Linked DNA regions of Homo sapiens: region 1 is linked to region 2. Evidence: promoter capture Hi-C in human tissues and cell types (Jung and others, 2019). All regions are on one chromosome and are shown on one strand. Each heading gives the region's core, a stretch centred on a gene start or on the middle of the fragment in contact. The rest is flanking DNA. Distances are from core to core; before and after follow the strand shown. Region 1 holds the start of SLC7A5 (solute carrier family 7 member 5). Region 2 holds the start of FOXC2 (forkhead box C2).

The links. Contacts are between HindIII fragments. The study calls those that stand out against the background at their distance.
Region 1: the fragment with the promoter of SLC7A5 here is called in contact with the fragment with the promoter of FOXC2 in region 2 in 1 of the 25 tissues and cell types used here (dorsolateral prefrontal cortex).

Annotation. Positions count from the first base shown.
Region 1 is chr16:87,866,519-87,871,666 of GRCh38, forward strand. SLC7A5 (solute carrier family 7 member 5) reads right to left here and starts at 2,989. Exons shown (of 10, transcript NM_003486.7): 1 at 2,367-2,989. The coding sequence starts at 2,904. RefSeq lists a silencer at 2,953-3,302, enhancers at 3,543-4,302, 3,747-4,946, 4,303-5,064 and a cis regulatory region at 5,026-5,148. The HindIII fragment of the contact is 6,482 bases long and covers 1-5,044 here.
Region 2 is chr16:86,563,275-86,568,216 of GRCh38, forward strand. FOXC2 (forkhead box C2) reads left to right here and starts at 3,555. Exons shown (of 1, transcript NM_005251.3): 1 at 3,555-4,942. The coding sequence starts at 4,062. It overlaps FOXC2-AS1 (FOXC2 antisense RNA 1), which reads right to left and starts at 4,487. Exons shown (of 2, transcript NR_125795.1): 1 at 4,343-4,487; 2 at 1,871-2,044. RefSeq lists enhancers at 3,690-4,274, 4,275-4,858. The HindIII fragment of the contact is 12,739 bases long and covers 1-4,942 here.

The sequences.
Region 1 (5,148 bases), core at 1,739-4,238, 1.3 Mb after region 2:
GCAGTGGTGCGATCTCAGCTCACTGCAACCTCCACCTCCTGGGTTCTAGTGATTCTCCTGCCTCAGCCTCCCGAGTAGCTGGGATTACAGGCATCTGCCACCACACCCAGCTAATTTTTTGTATTTTTAGTAGAGATGGGGTTTCACCATGTTGGCCAGGCTGGTCTCGAACTCCTGACTTCAGGTGATCCGCCTGCCTCGGCCTCCCAAGTGCTGGGATTACAGGTGTGAGCCACAGTGCCTGGCTGGTTTGAATTTTTAAATGATGATGAATTCATGTATGACTGATGTGATTTTTATTAGAAAGAGAAAACTAGGCAGCGCCCCATCCTACGTCTCCTTCCTGGTGGCCAATGAAGCATTTCCCACGACTCACTCCTGGCACCAGCAGGAAGTCAGAGACTCAGCACCCAGGGGCTGCTTTTTTTTTTTTGAGACAGGCTTGCTCTGTCACCCAGACTGGAGTGCAGTGGCGGGATCTCAACTCACTGCAACCTCCACATCCCGGAGCATGCCTCAGACTCATAAGCAGCTGGGATTACAGGCGTGAGCCACTCTGCCCGGCTAATTTTTGTATTTTTAGTAGAGATGGGGTTTCACCATGTTGGTCAGGCTGGTCTCGAACTCCTGACCTCGGTAGATCCGCCCGTCTCGGCCTCCCAAAGTGCTGGGATTATAGGCGTGGGCCATCACACCCAGCCAACCAGGGGTTCATTTTTTAAAGATAAGAGTGCAGGCTGCGTAAGCTACTATCCATGTCGTTACATACCGGGCCGACATGTACCTAGGCGGGAGGGAGACTGAACCAGTGAAATTCTAATGACAAAAAAAGAAATCAGAGTCATCCCCTACATTCACATCTCCAACGCCCAGCTGGAAGGCACAGGCTCTCCCCACTGCTGTCCTGCTACGATTTTTCCCGGCTTTGACCTGCATGGTGGTGCGGCTGCTCGACTCAGAGCCTCAGAGAAACCACACAGAGCCCTGCTGAGTCTTGCCCTCGGGGCATTCTCACATTTATGAAGAAATGCCTCCCCCTCCCCCTCCCCCCCAAAGTACGGTGTGGCAGAAAACAGCGCCAACAGGTCCTGCCAGTCAGAAGCCACTCCCCTGATTTCATGGCTCAAGACCCCAACTATAAATTAGCCCTTCCCACCTTGAATGTGTACACACACTATTGAGATGCAGGCCGATCCATGCCATGGGATGAATCTGAGAATTGCCAAGACCCACCTTCCCACGCCACCCAACCAAATCATGTGGCATCTGCTACAAGTGATTTTCCCCCTGAAATCCCACAAGAAAACTATTTTGAGGCCGGGCACGGTGGCTCACGCCTGTAATCCCAGCACTTTGGGAGGCCGAGGCGGGCGGATCACAAGGTCAGGAGATCGAGACCATCCTGGCTAACACGGTGAAACGCCGTCTCTACTAAAAATACAAAAAAAATTACCCGGGCGTAGTGGCGGGCACCTGTAGTCCCAGCTACTCGGGAGGCTGAGCCAGGAGAATGGCATGAACCTGGGAGGCGGGCTTGCGGTGAGCCGAGATCGTGCCACTGTACTCCAGCCTGGGCGACTGAGCGGGACTCAGTGTCAAAAAAAAAAAAAAAAAAGAAAGAAAAAGAAAAAGAAAACTATTTTGAAAAGCAGTTATCTCTGGCCTGGTGAAGAACACACCAGCACCATGCCCACCAAAACAGGAGCCCCATGGCTGTTTCCCAGAGAAACCTGGGACCCGCACGTCCATTCACTGCAACACAGACTGAATCTGCAGCCAAGCTCCGCTCTCTCACTACTGGGAACCCTCAGGGGGGATCCCTTAGCCTAAATCAGCACCAGTCACTACCCGCACACGATGTTATTACTACTGTTTTCTTATGAGTCAGCCCGTGTCACTGATTCCTGACGAGCTGGTGTGGAGAGCAGAAATGAATGATTTTTTTTTTAACTGCAATTTCCTTCTCACCAACCAGTCAGCAATCGGAGCTCTAACAGTAAACCGATTGCTCAGTTACTCCACGTGGGTGCCACGCAAGAGGCTGGGAGTATTGCTCAGCGGGGCCAACGGGAGGGTGGCACTTGCCTAAACCGCTTAAGTGGGGGAATGGAATGCCCACCGAAGGGCAGGGCAGGGACCCTGCTGTCCCGTCACTGAAGATATTCCCAGCCTGTGGGGAGAAGTGTAAAAGAATGAATGAAAGAAACGCACGTGGTTTCTGGGACCAATGACCTTAGCCTAGAACTGCCGGGATGGTCCAGGAACGTAAAGATGTAGAGATGTGGGAGCCAGGGGCGTAGTGATGCAAGGATGCAGGGACCCAGAGACTACGACCTCCCAACCCCCGGCCCGCGCCCCGTACTCACGCACGCAGAGGCAGGCCACGAGCTTGGCTGCCTCCTCGGGCACCGGGCAGGTGGGGAAGAGCGGCTTGAGCAGGTAGGTGGCGAAGACCAGGGCCACGATGTACTGCGATGAAGGCCGGATGATGAGCAGCTCGATCCAGAGCTTGAGGAAGGCGGGCAGCGAGCCGTAGACCTCCAGCATGTAGGCGTAGTCGCCGCCCGATTTGGAGATGGTGGTGCCGAGCTCCGCGTAGCAGAGCGCGCCCACGATGGAGAAGACGCCGCACGCGGCCCACACCACCAGCGCCAGCCCCGGCGAGCCTGCCTCCTTGAGCACGCCCGTGGGCGTCACGAAGATGCCCGAGCCGATAATGGTCCCCACGATGATGGCCACGCCGTTGAGCAGCGTGATGTTCCGCTGCAGGGTCACGCCCTCGCCCTCGCCTGCCGGCGCCGAGCCGTCCGCGCTCTTGGCGGCCAGCATCTTCTCCCGCGCCTCTTCCTTCTCCTCGGCCGCCGGCGCCGCTAGCGCGCGCCGCTTCGGGCCCGCACCCGCCATGCTCTGCGCACCGGCCGGGCCTGGGACACCCGGGAGCCGCGGCCCAGCGAGCAGTGTGCGCGCCGCCCGCCGCCCGCAGCTGCGTCAGGAACCCCGCCCGCGCCGCCTTTTAGGCCCCGGCCCGCCGGCCCCGCCCACCGTCCGCGGCTCCTCCCCGCCCCGTGGCCCGGCCCCGTCCCTCAGCCCCGCCCCCTCGGCCCAGCTCGGAGCACGTGCGTCGTCCGGCCCAGCCTGGCGGGCTATTCCCAGGCCCGCGTGGTCCTCGAAGGCCCCAGTCCTCCTGCGCCATGGAGACCCCGGCCTCGCGACCTCCCCCCTCCCGGCGCCCGCGTCATCCCAGCCCGTCCTCCCGGATGCGCCTGGGCGGGGCCTGGCAGTCAGGGCGCGCCCCTTCACCCACTGGCCCGCAGCCTCTCGTCAAGCCTGGGAGCGGGCAGTGCACCAGGGCTGGCCTGAGGCCAAGGATGGAGTTTGGGGTACCCCCCGAAGGGAACCTAGGCTCCTGTCCCGGATGGGCCGAGGGGATGGAACCGCCCCCACAACCAGCTCCTGGGGCACGGGGGAGGGATGAGAGGATGACCTGAGGGGAAGCTCCTGCAGCCTCCTTCCAGCCTGGGGGCTGCATCAGTGGGGCTGGTGAGCCGCGAACTGGGACGAGGGAAGAACCGAACCGAGGCCACCCAGTAATTCCCATTGTATCCCAAAAGAATCTTGCCAAAGACGGCGATCCGGTGCCCGTAGCTTTGAGAAGCAGTAATAACACAGGCTTTGGGAAGCCAGCAATCTGCCTGAGCTCAATTTAATCAACAGAACCGGGGGTTCGCTGGGAGCCATAAGACCCCCACCCCCAAATCTACCTGGGGAATTCAAAGGCAGGCTTCAGTGTGAAGGGGCTTTAAAGCTTGTTATTCCTAGGGAATGCGAGAGGCATCTTAGCTAAAAAGGGTTGAGAGGTAATTTCAGTTAGAGGCGAGAGCAGGATGCCAAGGCTCCTAGGCCTGGAAATGGGAAGGAATATAAATACTGCCCCGAGATTGACCAGACTGGTGAGCGGCCAAAGACCTGTTCAAAGGGTGTGTGTGGGTCAGGGAGGAAGCTCCTCAGTATCACCCCACCCCGGGGTTCCTTGGCGTGTGTGCAAACGAGTCCTTGGAAGCTCACAGCAGGCATGTGGGGAGGCCTTTGTTCTGGGTGAGCGTTCAGCCTCCCAGGGCAAACACGCAAACACCGGTTGCAGAGCTGGGTGTTCACAGCAAGACAGTCTGCTGGGCAGATGCCTCTGGAATCCACAGAATTCTGAACAATAGCCGTGGTGGAGGGGGGTCAGAATCCCTGTCGTGCTGGGACCTCTAGCTGCAGCCAGGAATGTCCAGGCCCCACCCCAGGGAGGGGGCGGCTGAGGAATGCCAGGGCTTGTCATTCTGGACCTTGCTCGCCCCCCGGTATGTCGGGCATTCCTCTGCGGTGATAAAACCGAGCGAAATCTCAGCAGCCCAGGCAGCCACAGGCGGGGGAGTGCGGAGGTCACACAGATACTAACTTGTAATCTGCCGTCCACATTGCTGGCTGTGGAAGGTGCAGAGACCCCTCCATCTGCCCTATTCTTCCCGCTGTGCCTGCAGAGGGAAGGAGACAGTACCACCATGGCTGGGCAAACTCACCGAGTGCTCACTGAGTCCTCCCCTAGACAGCTTCTTATGCAATAGGGTAGGTGCCAGTTAGAGCCATTTTGCAAATAAGGAAGCTGAGGCTTGGTAGGGTTACCTCGCTTGTCCGGCCAGCAAGTAGCCTGGGAGCTGTCCTTTTGACTCTGAACTTATATGGTACTTTTAATCATTCCACCATTCTTCTTTGAGTAACAAGAAAGGCAACCAACAGTCATACCCCAAAGCATAAAATTACAACCATGATAAGCCAAGGACATGACAGGGTGAGCCAGCGACAGCGACAGGGACCAGGCAGGTCCAGATAGACTTTTCTGAGGTGGTACCTGGAGCTGAGAGCCCAGGGTGAGTGAGAATTAATAAGGGAGGTGCAGGGGTCCCCACCGGCACAGAGGGGGCCCTGCACAGTTGGTGCAAGTCATGGTTGGTGCCCCCAGAGCCAGGCTCCTGGCAAGTGCTGGAGCCCTTAAGCAGGAAGGGTGACAACAGCCATGAGCGTGTTCAAGTCACACAGCTATTACGCCACCTCTGTCGGTTTTTACTGGGTTTTCATATGACAACATTCTAGATTTATCCAGCA
Region 2 (4,942 bases), core at 2,305-4,804:
AGGTGGCGCCGACTTTGTGTAACCCAAGGGCTCCTCGGTTCTCAGGCAGCTTCTGGAAGCCTGGGACTCCTCTGCCACCCGATCCCTTTCCTCAAAACCAAGGCACCTCGTGACCCCAGAAAAGAAATGTTTGAAGGATATTGAAATGAATGAATGGGAAATAGTGAGACAAGAAACAAAACTCCTTTCACTTGTCCCCTCTTTGAGTTCTCTGTTGTACCTCAAAAGTAGAAGTGGCTGCTGCCCAGTTTCAAAGTCTGCCTCTTGTTCAAGCCAACCCTCTAAACACACGACCAGCACAAACAGCTTTCTGATGAATTCCCTGAAGCTCACGCCACACCTCGGGCAGAAAGACAGCTGCAGCGGGAAAACATGGACGAGGCAATTTGTTCAACAACTCCGGGGGAAGAAAATGCAGACTTCTAGCCACCTAAGAGGCATAGATTTTATTTGGGGAAAACCCCAGCAAGTTTCCCTAGAGAAAATTTCTTGCTCCCCGAGCAGTTTCAAAGACATTTTTGTTTCCCAACAGATCATGTTCTTGACACGTTGCGAAGTTACGGGAAATGTTTTTTAATCGACGCGATGCAGTTTATCTCCTTTCTCTGCTTTTACAGATTTCTGAAGGCTCCATTCCAGCCGTGCAATGCCCAGGAGTATCCACAAGGTGTCAGCACCTTCATGATAAGCAGGGCGGGCCGGGCGGTCTTTTTCTTTTTCCTTTTCTCGTAGTAGTTCCCTGGTTGGCCTCAAGATGACGCCAACACCCACGGAGTCCGCCCAGCCGCTCCAGGTGCAGCGGCCACGGGCCGGGAGGAGCGCAGCGCGGTGGGGGCGGAAGGCGAATTAAATACCTTTAGGCTTTATCGCCGCTTATTATTCCAGGAACACGCGAGGCCCTCTGGGACCCGATTCCGCGTTCGGCTCACTGACTTACAAGGTCAAGAAGGGGGAAAATCAGCCAGAAAGTAGCAGCCCCCCATCCGAAATACCCTGGCAGGTTAAAGAAAAGCTGGGAAATACGGTTTTTGCAAAGTCCAGGTGTATGGAAGGCGTTGTTTTAATAACCTGAACAAACATCTTTCCCGGAGTCCCACTGAGCAAACAAGAAACCTAATTCCAGGGGTAAAGGGAAGTGTCTCTCTCACCTTTTCTGTCTTGATGAGACGAATTTCTTTCCCCTCCCCTTTTCCTTTCTTTGGGGCGGGGGAGGGTGGATAATATATTGGGCGACTCGATTTAGGTGTTTGTTTGTTTGTTTGTTTGTTTCCCCAGATGACATTGGTTTAAACCGGGACACCCTTGTGAATACAAACGTAGGCAGCAACTGCCATTTTGGAATTTATTTTTTCATAGTCCTTAGCTATTTTAGGTTTTGCTGTGATAAAGCTGTTTCTCTCTCTCTCTCTCTCTCACACACACACACACACCCCTCGTAAAAGCAGAGTAAATAATATTCCTCCAGGAAGCCTACAGGCTGAGGAGTGTTTCTTGATCAATAGTTTGCATTTCCAGTAAAATCGTGACACGAACTCAGTGTGCCTGTCATGCGCTGCAGGAGAAGGGCACTTTTTGCTAGTCCTTTTTTTTTTTTAAGCTAGATGCGGAAATACTAGCTTATTAAAAATAATAAAGTCATGGTGGGAGTTTAGGGTTGGGGCAGAAAGCTCAAATCATTTGCCTGTGAGCTGAGAACTGGGCAGCTTTATTTTACTTTGTTTCAAAGAAAGAAGAAAAAGGATCAGGTTAGAAAAAGAGCCCAGAATACTCATAAAAACAATGTTTCAGAAGTGGAATATTCAAGGTAAAGGAACCTGATTTGTAGCTTCCCTTTGGCTTTGAATTGATCAGGAGACAAAGATAATGCATCTACATTTTCGTCTTCTGTTCTTTTATTGGAAATAAGTGGCACGCCCCATTGCCTTCTAGTCGCCTCCCCGAAGCGAAGAGGCCGAAGCGAAGAGGCCTGGTGGGTTGTCTCAACATCCTTTTGCTGAGAATCGAATACGCAGCCGATGAACAGCCAGGAAGGGTGCAAGGAAACCTGAAATACAAATGTTCTCCCTGAAGCCCTCTTCCCTGCCCAACCAGACCAGCAACTTCCAAAATTCTGCCCGTGTTTAGCCTTGTTAAAGGGGTGTCTCACTCCTTCAGGGAAAGTGGGAAAAGGGGATCTGATTATTGAGGTGTGGAAGGAATAAATAATCAGTCCACAAATAAACAAACTGTCCGGGATTCCTAGAGGGAAGGAGAAATCCTTGAAGGAGATCCAAGTCGCTCCAGGTCTGCCTGCCGAATAATATCATCCCGAAGGGATCTTGAACCGTTTGCAATCAACCGCTCACCCAGTCTTCCCACGGAGCGCGCTCCCTAACTCACCCTACCCACCCAACAAAACAAAAAAAAGGCTGAAATATAGAAAAGCAACTTGGAGGCTCCCAGGGGGACGTTGCCAGGAGCAGGAGGCAGGGACAGCGCCCTAGGGTCGGTGTTAGCGGCCGGCGCCGGCCTGGGCCACGGGAAACGTCCACGCTTGGTGCCCGCGGTGCGCGGCGCTCATTGCGCGCGCCTTCGAGCCAAGCCCCCGCGGAAAACAGGCTCGGGTTTCTCCTCGCAGGGCCCAGGAACTCGGCTCTGCCTGGCCCGGGTGGGTCGCTGCATTGTCCCGGTCTTCTGGGAGTGCGGGGTCAGCTTGTTAGAGGGAATTTCTACCTGGGAAAAGGGAGACGAGTTTCGAAGCTGAAGTTGGTAGGCTGCGAGTGTCCACGCGGGAGACGAAAGGGGGAAATAGCAGAGTCACTTCACCCTTTTCCCCAAACCCCACAAAACTGCTCGCAGCGACGCGGATGATCTACCGAATTCCCCGCGAATTCGGAGGATTAAGTTGTCAGTCAGCACGTTGCTACCTTCCCCTCTATGCACTCCGCTGCCTGGCTCCTCGGCGGGGAGCGAGGGAAACTCAGTTTGTAGGGTTTACCTCTAAAACCTCGATAGGTTATCCTTGACGACCCCGAGCCTGGAAACTCCCTGTTGATGATTAATTATTTGATTAAATAAGTATAACATCCAGGAGAGGCCCTGCCATTCCAATCCAGCGCGTTTGCTTTGAATCCATTACACCTGGGCCCCCATAATTAGGAAATCTAATTATTCGCTTCATCACTCATTAATAAGAAAAATGTCCCAGGATCATTGCTACTTACAAGGTCTTTGGGAGAGATATTTTACTCTATTAATCCATTCTATTTTATATTTCAAATTGATTTTTTTTAACAGAGGAAAGTGGCTATCTTTTTGTTTTGGGCATGTGGGCCCATTCACCAAAATGTGATCATAAAATAAATTTTAATAAGATATAACTTTTTAAAAAGTTTTCAAGTGAAGACGGAGTCGCCGCGGAGGCCGGGGCGGCGGGGTCTTAGAGCCGACGGATTCCTGCGCTCCTCGCCCCGATTGGCGCCGACTCCTCTCAGCTGCCGGGTGATTGGCTCAAAGTTCCGGGAGGGGGCGTGGCCCGAGGAAAGTAAAAACTCGCTTTCAGCAAGAAGACTTTTGAAACTTTTCCCAATCCCTAAAAGGGACTTGGCCTCTTTTTCTGGGCTCAGCGGGGCAGCCGCTCGGACCCCGGCGCGCTGACCCTCGGGGCTGCCGATTCGCTGGGGGCTTGGAGAGCCTCCTGCGCCCCTCCTCGCGCGGGCCGAGGGTCCACCTGGGTCCCCAGGCCGCGGCGTCTCCGCTGGGTCCGCGGCCGCCCGCCTGCCCGCGCTGCCGCCGCCGGGTCCTGGAGCCAGCGAGGAGCGGGGCCGGCGCTGCGCTTGCCCGGGGCGCGCCCTCCAGGATGCCGATCCGCCCGGTCCGCTGAAAGCGCGCGCCCCTGCTCGGCCCGAGCGCCGCCGCCCGCGCACCCTCGCCCCGGAGGCTGCCAGGAGCCCGGGGCCGCCCCTCCCGCTCCCCTCCTCTCCCCCTCTGGCTCTCTCGCGCTCTCTCGCTCTCAGGGCCCCCCTCGCTCCCCCGGCCGCAGTCCGTGCGCGAGGGCGCCGGCGAGCCGTCTCGGAAGCAGCATGCAGGCGCGCTACTCCGTGTCCGACCCCAACGCCCTGGGAGTGGTGCCCTACCTGAGCGAGCAGAATTACTACCGGGCTGCGGGCAGCTACGGCGGCATGGCCAGCCCCATGGGCGTCTATTCCGGCCACCCGGAGCAGTACAGCGCGGGGATGGGCCGCTCCTACGCGCCCTACCACCACCACCAGCCCGCGGCGCCTAAGGACCTGGTGAAGCCGCCCTACAGCTACATCGCGCTCATCACCATGGCCATCCAGAACGCGCCCGAGAAGAAGATCACCTTGAACGGCATCTACCAGTTCATCATGGACCGCTTCCCCTTCTACCGGGAGAACAAGCAGGGCTGGCAGAACAGCATCCGCCACAACCTCTCGCTCAACGAGTGCTTCGTCAAGGTGCCCCGCGACGACAAGAAGCCCGGCAAGGGCAGTTACTGGACCCTGGACCCGGACTCCTACAACATGTTCGAGAACGGCAGCTTCCTGCGGCGCCGGCGGCGCTTCAAAAAGAAGGACGTGTCCAAGGAGAAGGAGGAGCGGGCCCACCTCAAGGAGCCGCCCCCGGCGGCGTCCAAGGGCGCCCCGGCCACCCCCCACCTAGCGGACGCCCCCAAGGAGGCCGAGAAGAAGGTGGTGATCAAGAGCGAGGCGGCGTCCCCGGCGCTGCCGGTCATCACCAAGGTGGAGACGCTGAGCCCCGAGAGCGCGCTGCAGGGCAGCCCGCGCAGCGCGGCCTCCACGCCCGCCGGCTCCCCCGACGGCTCGCTGCCGGAGCACCACGCCGCGGCGCCCAACGGGCTGCCTGGCTTCAGCGTGGAGAACATCATGACCCTGCGAACGTCGCCGCCGGGCGGAGAGCTGAGCCCGGGGGCCGGACGCGC